Regions from separate parts of the Homo sapiens genome. Here region 2 is linked to region 1. The links are contacts of gene promoters, found by promoter capture Hi-C in blood cells and fetal thymus (Javierre and others, 2016). All regions are on one chromosome and are shown on one strand. Each heading gives the region's core, a stretch centred on a gene start or on the middle of the fragment in contact. The rest is flanking DNA. Distances are from core to core; before and after follow the strand shown. Region 1 holds the start of CFAP36 (cilia and flagella associated protein 36). Region 2 holds the start of LOC124906008 (a long non-coding RNA gene).

Region 1 (5,141 bases), core at 2,642-5,141:
CTACATATTACATGACAGTGACATTGTCTTTCACCAAAACACAAATTAAAAGTTAATATTTTTGCTGAAAATCACATGAAATTGTATTTCTTCTAATAGAAATAGTTGAAGTCAGGATTATGAAGTTCAATGTGGTACAACTCTTCTGCTACCCAGAGGCATTTTTTTTTCTTCTTTTCTTTTCTTTCTTTTTTGAGATGGAGTCTCACTCTGTCACCCAGGCTGGAGTGCAGTGGTACGATCTCGGCTCACTGCAACCTCTGCCTCCCAGGCTCAAGCAATTCTCCTGCCTCAGCTTCCTGAGTAGCTGGGACTAGAGGCGCCTGCCACAATGCCCGACTAATTTTTTTTTTTTTTTTTGGTAGAGATGGCGTTGCACCATGTTGGTCAGGCTGGTCTCGAATTCCTGACCTCAGGTGATCCGCCTGCCCTGGCCTCCCAAAGTGCTGGGATTATAGGCATGAGCCACCACGCCTGGCCTTTTCTTTCTTTCTTTCTTTTTTTTTTTTTTGAGACAGAGTCTTACTCTGTTGTCCAGACTGGAGTACAGTGGCACAGTAATGGCTCACTGCAGCCTTGACCTTCTGGGCTCAAGAGATCATCCTCCCACTTCAGCCTCCCAAGCAACTGGGACTACAGGCACATGCCATCATGACTGATTAATTTTTGTAATTTTTATAAAGATGGAGTTTCACCATGTTGCCCAGGCTGGTCTCGAACTCCTTGGCTGAAGCAATCCACCTGCCTTGGCCTCCAAAGTGCTGGGATTATAGGTGTGAGCCACTGAGCCCCACTGCCAGAGGCATTTTTTAAAATCACAAGACAGGCTGGGCAGTGGCTCACACCTGTAAACCCAACACTTTGGGAGGCCCAGGCAGGTGGATCACTTGAGCTCTGGAGTTCCACACCAGCCTGGGAAACACAGAGAAACGCCATCTCTACAAAATACAAAAAAATTAGCAGGGCATGGTGGTGCACACCTGTAGTCCCAGCTACTCAGGTGGCTGAGATGGGAGGATCGCTTGAGCCTGGGGAGGTTGAGGCTGCAATAGGCTGTGATAGTGCCACTGCACTCCAGCCTGGGTGACAGAGCAAGACCCTGTCTCAAAAATAAAAAATAAAAAAATCACATGACAACCATGACGAAGTGAATAATTAATATGTCCCTGGATGCGTCAACAAAATAAGAATAAGATATAAAGAATACATGCAAGAACCCATAAAGAGTTGTAAAACCATTCCTTAGAGTAGAGGAGATAAGTCATCCAAATGAGATATTCAGAGCACCTGTGGAGACAGATATAACTGGCACTATTGTTAAGGTAGATTGGATTTTTGTAAAATTAAGGATTTTTAATGTAAAAATATTTTTCTTCATTTAGAAAAGCTATAAGTAGTATTAGCCTAATTACTTTTAAAAATCAGTGAAAAAAAATACTCACTAGTTCTTTGTATTCCTGATGAATCTCTGTATAGGTCAATTTGCTTTCTTCTTCATCATCAAAAACTAAATTTAAAAGAAAATATTACATAGTGTAAAAACCAAATCATTTTATTAATGCAAATTTAAAAATCCACTCCTTCCAAATAGAACTGTCAACCTAGCTCTTCAGCTTTGAATTCTTAGGGTTTATCTTTTAAAAATATATAAATGAATATATCTAAAAATATATACTATTGGCCGAGCACTGTGGCTCATGCCTGTAATCCCAGCACTTTCGGAGGCCAAGGTGGGTGGATCACCTACGATCAGGAGTTCGAGACCAGCCTGGCTGATGTGGTGAAATCCCATCTCTACTAAAAATACAAAAATCAGCCAGGCGTGGTTGTGCGCGCCTGTAGACCCAGCTACTCGGGAGGCTGAGGCAAGAGAATTGCTTGAACCCAGGAGGCGGAGGTTGCAGTGAGCCAAGATTGCACCACTGCACTCCAGCCTGGGCGGCAGAGTGAGACTCCATCTCAAAAAAAAAAAAGAAAAAAAAATATACACACACACACACACACACACACACATATATACTATTAATTGTAAACAAGCTTTTTTGCCTACTTGAGAAAATATTTAAAATGAATACTACCTCATATTTAAGACAAAAACACATTTCAATCAATATGAGGCAATAATTTCTTCATAACTTTTAATGTAATATTATTGTTAATGGTTAAATCCTTTTACAATAGGTTCCATATTATTTTATTGTACTGGAATTTTGCTGATGTAAATGTTACTGAAAGTGACCAGGCAATTTTTGTTACCACAGATAAATAATGAAGTTAAATAAAATCAAAACAAGTGTTTACTGAATGATCATATGTATAAAACAATGCAGTGAGCCAAGATCACGCCACTGCACTCCAGCCTGGGCAACAGAGCGACACTCTGTCTCCCAAAAAAAAAAAAAAAAAAGGAGTACAAATACAAGTTATTTTGTTTTTGAACATTGTTAAAAAATTACCTGTAAAAATAACACTTTAATAACTACGATTTGAATATTGATTATAGCAATGAAAATGTAATGAAAAGATTCAGTGGTCAAACTGAATTTCATCTTTACCAGATTCATGATATCTTGGAATTTAAAGAAGTCTTAAAAGGTCATCCAGGATAACCGACCATTTGATAGCTGAATAGCTGAATCCCTCTAACCCTATTAAGTCGCTATCAGATCCATTCAAACACTGCTGGAGCCGGGAAGCTCATTACCTTCTGAGGCTGGCTAACTCATCTTGGATACATTCTATCATGAAACACTTCCTTCACTGAAATTTGTTTCCCTGTAGCTTGTACCAACTGACCCTAGCTCTATTCTACTCAACCTTACAACACAAAGCAGATGTTCAAATAATTGATGAATACTACTACCCTCAAAGTCTTGCCCGATTAAACAACCACAATAACGCTTGGGCACTCATTTATATGACGTGGTTTCTGGTTCCTTTTCTGCGAATGGGCTGCAAATAGTCTCCACGAACTGAATGCAGAACTCCAAGCCTGAAGAACTGCTCAGAACCCGGAGATGCCTGTCCTTCACGGGGAATATTATGCCATATCTATACGCCTCATTTGTTCCAAGAATGGTCCTGCCCCACCTCGCCAATTTTTGGTATAGCGAAGAGTAGAGAGCTCACCAAGGGGAACACAGGCCACCAAAATCACCGGCTCTGGGCTTCCTGGAGTTATCACATGCCCTCCTTTGCAGTTAACTGTTGGTTTGGAGTGAAATCATTTCTCATTTCCTAAGCTGACTACACCGGGCGAAATGCTAGGGATCATAAGGAACTCAGGTAAACCGACGCTTCTCCTCTCAAGTCTGGCAAAGCTGTTGAAGAAGCCCAGCCAAACAGTCCACCTGCCGAGGGCAGAAACGTTCGGGACAGGGTGAGAGACCGAATTTACGATTCAAGTCTAATGTTCTTCGGACGTGCGCTTCGGCCCCAGAGAAGGGGAGTCTCGGTCCCCGTTTTCAGGTCTGCGAAGGAACACATTGGCAGGGTGAAAGGAATTCCTCCCACACAACCAGCTCTAAACCTGATGACGCGGGTGGAGAAGGTGGTGAGGGGAACGAGACCTTGCGACAGGGGTGGAGACAGGGGGTCGGGGAGACGAGAGATGGCTTGTGGTTACCAACCCCCTGCCCGCCGCTGGTGTGAGAGAGGAGAAAAGGATTGTCGGTTCGGGCTCTGGTTTTTACCTTCACATTTCTGTTCCACAAAGTCCAAGATGGGGATGGACCAGTCTGGGCCTCGCAGGAACCCCGCGATGCTCTCCACTACCCACTCCACCTCGTCTTCTTCTTCCGCAGCCATCCCGCCCCAAAGGGGCAACGGGGAAGATCCCTAGGCCAGACCGCCGGACCCCGGTTAGGCCTTTGGGCCACAAGGAGCCGAGAGGGAGTAGGGGAAGAGCTGGCCCGCAGTCGCTCAGCCCCCAGGATAGAAGCTACCAACCAGTTAATGCAAAATGGTCGCTATGGCAACACACGTAGCCGCCCTAGACCGCGGCCCGGAAGTGAAGACAACTTTCCAGGAGCCTGCGCACTTAGCGGGGAGGGCAAACGTTTGAAAAACGTTTCTGATTGGTTAAAAAAGAACAGTGGACGAGGGCTGAGAAAAGAAGTGTAGCTATTGGCTGGAAGTCATAGACAGATTGCGCTCTCTCTTCTGATAAATGCGTAGGAGCCAAGGTTTAGAAAACGCGCAGTAGACGGGCGCGGTGGCTCACGCCTGTAATTCCAGCACTTTGGGAGGCCGAGGCTTGCGGATCACCTGAGGTCAGGAGGTCGAGACCAGCTTGGCCAACATGGTGAAACCTCGTCTCTACCAAAAATACAAAAATTAGCCTGGCGTGGTGGCGCCGCCTGTAATCCCAGGTACTCGGGAGGCTGAGGCAGGAGAATCGCTTGAACCCGGGAAGCCGAGGTTGCAGTGAGCCACTGCACTGCAGCCTGGGAGACTGCGTCTCAAAAGAAAAACAGGAAGAAAGAAAAGAAAAAAGAAAAGGCTCAGTGAGGGTCTGAGGTAACCGGGTCTCCACCTGACAGGGCTTCAGCGGCTGCAGTTCATCATTGTATCCCCAGCACCTCAGTCCCAACCATTTTCAGACCATTGGCCCAGAGGCGTTTGTAATTAAAGGGTTGTCTGAAAATACAAAGCCGAGCTGTGTGAGACTCGCTGATTGTCTTACGGTCAGTTTGCATCTGTATCTTCAGGCGGGTCTTTAATCTCTTACGCTTGGATAAAGATAACTAGAATTAGGAGCTTTTCAAGGGCAAGAGCAAAGTTAATACTCACTTAAATAAATGCCTTGGTAACCAAATCTTATTATAACTCCAACTCAGCATTTAGGTGGAGTCCATTGTGGAATGGGGTCTTCAGTGGTCATTGTGAAGGTGTTTGGAGTCCCAAAATATCTTCAGACAACCATATATATATATATATTTTTTACATAAATAGGATTATATGTACAGTTATGAATTTTTTTCTTATATCTTTATCTTTTAAAAATATAAATTTGTGCTTTCTTTGCAACTGCATAGTATTCCATAAACCATCCTTTAGTCTATTTTTATTTTGTGAATGTGCACACAGTATCTTACCTGAATGCATGAAGATGATCATTATGTGCCTTTTTTTTTTTTTTT
Region 2 (5,306 bases), core at 2,606-5,105, 930 kb after region 1:
TGGCATTTACATCAGATTCTGATTCCCAGAAGGAGTAAATTATAAGGGAAATCCTAGTATGGTGCTCCTTCCTCCAGATGGAATTTTATAAGATGGTGTGTCTGCAATAACATTGCCATGCATCTGAATGGCACTTCATACTTTCTCTAAGCTCACTAGATCTTCACAGCAAACTATTAGGTAGGTGGGATGCTAGAGTTATCTCTAGCAAAGCCCAAGGCTCAGTGAGGTTAAGGGCTGCTAAGTGTCACCAGCCAGTAGTGGTGAGGTCCTCGGCTCTTTCTCTCCCACTCCAGCCAGGCAAGAGGGATTAAGATGCATAGCTACACCTTCTCCTGTCATATACTGAGATTCACTATCTTTTGTTGTTTGGTTTCTGATAAACAACTTGAAATTCTTAGAAGATGTATTAGAAAAAAAGGATGAGGTAGCTGGGCGCGTTGGCTCACACCTGTAATTCCCAGCACTTTGGGAGGCCAAGGCAGGTGGAATACCTGAGGTCAGAAGTAGTTTGAGACCAGTCTGACTAACATGGAGAAACCCCCATCTCTACTAAAAACACAAAATTAGCCAGGCGTGGTGGCGCATGTCTGTAATCCCAGCTACTCGGGAGGCTGAGGCAGGAGAATCGTTTGAACCCGGGAGGCAGAGGTTGCGGTGAGCCAAGGTGGTGCCTTTGCACTCCAGCCTGGGCAACAGGAGCAAAACTCTGTCTCAGATAAAAAAAAAGAAAAAAGAAAAAAAAAAGTATGAAATATTTAGAACTGAGAAACACATTTGCTTAATGGTTAAAAAAAAGGGCTGTGAATATCCTCTCCACCATCATCCTCTTCTAGAAGCATAACATCTACTTCTTTTCTTTTTAGGGAATGACTGTGATAAATACTGAAAGGCTGTAATGCGTCTATGTAATTTTTTAATTTATATTTTTAAATTAATTAACCAATGAATATATTAGAGAAGGAGTCTGTCACCCCAGCTAGAGTGTAGTGGTGTGATCACAGCTCACTGTAATTTTGGACTCCTGGGCTGAAGCAATCTTCCCACCTCAACCTCCAGAGTAACTAGGATTACAGGCATGCACCATCACACCTGGCTTTTTCATTTTTTTTTGTAGAAATAGGGTCTCATTAGATTGCCCAGGCTGACCTCAAACTCCTGGTCTCCAGTGATCCTCCCACCTTAGCCTCCCAAAGTGAATTACAGGTGTGGGCCACTGCACCCAGCCCCATATTTATTTACTCTAGAGAATTTGCTATAACTGAAAAAATGAACACTGTGTTAGCGTGAGTCAAGTTAGGATACAGAAATAGCTTTGATGAGCAGAAGGGCACTGCATGATGGAAATGATTGTACGGCATCTTTCTGCAATACCCTCAGCACAGAGTGCTAAACACAACTATATTCACCATATGCCACAGTTCTGGTTATGGAAAGGGATGGGAGCCAGGAATGAAGGAAAGCCTGAAGGCATGGAACATCTCCGGATGGAAAAAAAAGGAAACATAGAATCAGGAACTGTCAAAAGACCCTATTCATTGTTCCCCTAAAGACTGAATTTATACCTGGCTTAAGAGAAGGAATCTTTCTTTTACTTTTCAAGTAGTCTGAACCTGCACGTATAACCCAGTAATATTTTCTATCAGGCTCTTCAATTGTGCTAAGATAATGGCCTACCCCCTAAGTAAGAGACAGCAATCATGTAGTTTTTGCTTTGCACAGACATATAGTTAAGTTAGGTGTAGTCTTGGGTTCAAAGTAAGAAAGAAAGGAATTACAGGGATGGAAGTTAAGAAGAAATCAAAAGGGGAGGAAGCAATCATCCCATGAACATATCCCCACTATTTAAATCAATAATACTGTGTTAGCTGACTAATCTGAAATTGAGAGTATTAGTGAGCTCCAATATTACAAAGTGCATACTTTACCTAGAACTCTGTGTCTAAGATAAAGTCTCTTACCCTCAATGAACTAGAAATCTAGCTGGGGATACAAAATAAAAAGTTAAAAAATAACAAAAAGACATTACAAAGAAGTACAAGATCAGTTGCTAAGAGAATAATTTTGACAATCTATTTTTGCGTGTTTTGAACAAAGCTCACCACAATTTGGGTGGTTTCAGACCCCAACTGAACTCCCCTGCCTTGGGCCTCTCTCCGCATTCTAATCCACCTTAAACATCACTACCATAGCCATGTTCCTCAATCAGTGGTTTTTCAAAGTTGCAGCACTGCACCAAAACCTTCAACGGACCCCAGCTATCCAGAAGACAGTCCAAATCTCTGAACCTGGCATTTAAAGGTCCCAAACGGGCTCTCCTAAGGCATCAGCTTCATCTGGGAACTTCCCTGACATGCCGTCTTTTGTTCCAACCTAACAGGTCTTACTCTCATGCTCTGAACTCTCACCTTGCACACTGCTTTTTCCCATCTTTGCTTCTATCATTCTTCTAACCTAGAAGGCAGTTTTCTCTTACCCTTCCTTTAAGATCCAGCCAAGATTAGTTCTACCAAGAGGCCCTCTCCTATCAGATGTCAGCAATCATCATTTGATGGGATGTGGTCTCTCATCTTTTATTATACGTCTTGTGTCCTATCTCTTCAATTAACTTGCAGTTGGCTCAGAGGCAAAGGCTCAATCCTATTCATGTTTAGAGCTTTAGCATATACATGACATAAAGGAGGTGCACAATAAACATTTGTTCAATGAGTCAGCAAACCTCCAGTGTCCAACAACTAGGTTCTCGATAAATCTTATTGTTGGTGGTGGTCTCACTGAAATTGTTGAGGAGGGAAATTTCATATCACAAAGACAGGCCCTAGGCAGTTAAATGTTGTCATTGTATAGCACTAAAAATATATGACAGGTGAACTGCTTCTTGCAATTCCTCAATGTCTGAAATACGGATAAAAATGCAATTTTGTGGTGCTGTCATTCAGACTAAAATGGGTCCAGAGCCAAACTAAAATGTTTGACAAATTCTGTTTTTTGTTTGCTTGTTTTATCTTTGGGCAATTGCCACCACATACCTGTACGGTAAAGTGAAGTTGCAAAATACACAACGGTGTGATTAGGACATCATTGTAACATATTACAACATTATTTAAACATGACCCAATCAGGTCAATTGTCACAAGACTTAATTTGTTGCAACTTTAACAATTTATATATTAAAGTTTAATTCTTGAACTGTTTTAAAATAAAGAATAAAAAAGGATCTTAACTCAAAACAAAAGAATAGTGGTAGGGTGGAGTCCCCCTATATGCCTTAGCTTGAAAAAATAAATAAATCATTTCCCATGAGTAACATGCAAAATACACAGAGCAGGAAGCCGGAAACAGGCAGCTGGCTGTATTGATAACAGAGAATCCAACTGTTATCTTGAGGCAGCAACAGGAAGGAAACTAATCTTTTGACTGAAGTCCTCCCTGTGACGGACTAGTCTGAAGGCCTTAAATTCATGTTTGCTGATTTGTATAAAAATAGAATTTGAGTTACAATAGTTTCCTTAACTGTTTAACTTGCATCATGGACAAAACACATGTAAATATTTGCTCTAAATGCATGTGAAGCAAATATGCAATTGTCTGCTAGTAACTGTCTGATGGGCCGACTACAAAACCCACCATGAGCTCTCTATGACCTGGCACCTACAGGTTGCATCTGCTGGGCAGTCCCTCCTGCAGCTTCCAGAGGGCCTTTCTTCTGAGCGGCACAACCCCAGTTTGCCAATGTGGAGACCAAGGCACTGCAGGCACAACTTCTGAGAGGAGACCCACAATAACTGAGAAATGAGGCTCTGTCACCAGGGTCCTGCCTCTGTCACAGTCGTACGTCAAGGTGAGCCGCATAAAGTCACAATCCATAAGAAGCCAAGACTCTGGAGGGAGCTGAGGTTATGATGGGGGCTTTCTCCGAAAATAAGAGGCAAAGCAACACAACTACCTCTTCTAAGATGAGAGCTAAGGTGGGAACCAGTGTGAATTAATCAATAATAAGTTAATTGTACATTTAAAGATAACTAAGAGTATAATTGGATTGTTTGTAACACAAAAGATAAATGCTTGAGGGGATGGATATCCCATTCTCCACGATGTGATTATTAAGCATCACATACCTATATTAAAACATCACATACCCCATAAATATATACATCTACTATGTATCCACAAAAGTTAAAAATATTTTTTAAAAAACAAAACAAAAAAAACCAATAGTGTAAGGTGCCAAAACCAGGTGGAAAAAGCAAATGTAAAAAAACAGAATTAGGACCTTGTGATAAAATTCTCAGTAACTGTTCACTGTGTTTGACTAAAAATGGGTAGCATGCTTCCAAACTGCTTTCACATACAGGAAGTCATATCCTGAGCCCATTAACCTGCTACTCTCCATCTCTACAGGATGGGAACTGCAGTCAGGGTGACTGATCAGTTAGGGCAAAGGCTGAAGTAAGCCCAGGTGTGCACTAGTGATGCTGCATTAGGATCTTCACTCACTTTCCCTCCTTCATTACAGCCTGTGATTTCTAACTAACTGAGGTGGCTGAGGCACAGACTGGTTTTGGGATCCCCCCGAGGGCATGCTGCTAGCAAATAAACACCCAGAATTAGAGCCCACATTTATCTGAACCCTACAGAATCCCAAAGCACCTGAGGCACTCCATCCCACACAGGGAGTGTGGGATGGTATCTATTTAGTTCCAACCACCATCCCACACTGCCTGAGGAAAACAAGACATCACCTCCCCAAAACAAGAAGAAAAAACTCATAACCATCCATGTCTGGTCAGTTCCTTCAGACTGAGTTAAAAGATTAATATAAAATAGGAGTCAGCAAACTTCAGCCAGTAGCCTCTTTTTATGTAGCCTGGGAGACACACAGGTTTTACATTTTAAGAGGGTGGTTAAAAGGAGGAGGAAGAGGAAGGGGAGGAGGCTGATGATACCCCATAGAGACTCCATGTGGCCCACAAAGCCTAACAGTTATTATCTGGTCCTTTATAGAAAAAGTTTGGCATGTCCTGGTTTAAAACATTTCAATATAATAATACTGTTGATCCCACATCCCATTTGTTAGACTCCACTTCAAATTAAAATCAGCTTAGCAAATAGGTACTAAGTGCTTGCTATGAGCAAGGCACCACACTGGGTACTATTTTAAATTTTGCTATTGAATATGTTGCCAGGTTAATGCTCAGTAGCCACAAGCATTTTCTGGTAAGTGATATCCACATGTCAGGTCAGTCACAGGGTGAACTCGGGGCCCCTTCCACTCCCCAGCGGAGTGGGTATTTATCTGGTTACCT

The links. The method cuts DNA at HindIII sites, captures the fragments that hold promoters and counts their contacts. A CHiCAGO score of 5 or more calls a contact.
Region 2: a contact is called between a fragment that was not itself captured here and the fragment with the promoter of CFAP36 in region 1, in 1 of 17 cell types (neutrophils). The highest score is 5.2, in neutrophils.

The regions. Positions count from the first base shown.
Region 1 is chr2:55,518,468-55,523,608 of GRCh38, reverse strand. It overlaps CFAP36 (cilia and flagella associated protein 36), which reads right to left and starts at 3,891. Exons shown (of 10, transcript NM_080667.7): 1 at 3,693-3,891; 2 at 1,443-1,507. The coding sequence starts at 3,807. RefSeq lists enhancers at 3,111-3,360, 4,541-4,590. The HindIII fragment of the contact is 7,670 bases long and covers 2,040-5,141 here.
Region 2 is chr2:54,587,812-54,593,117 of GRCh38, reverse strand. All of the region lies in intron 2 of SPTBN1 (spectrin beta, non-erythrocytic 1), which reads right to left. It overlaps LOC124906008 (a long non-coding RNA gene), which reads left to right and starts at 3,684. Exons shown (of 3, transcript XR_007086322.1): 1 at 3,684-5,306. RefSeq lists an enhancer at 3,454-3,503. The HindIII fragment of the contact is 8,072 bases long and covers 1-5,306 here.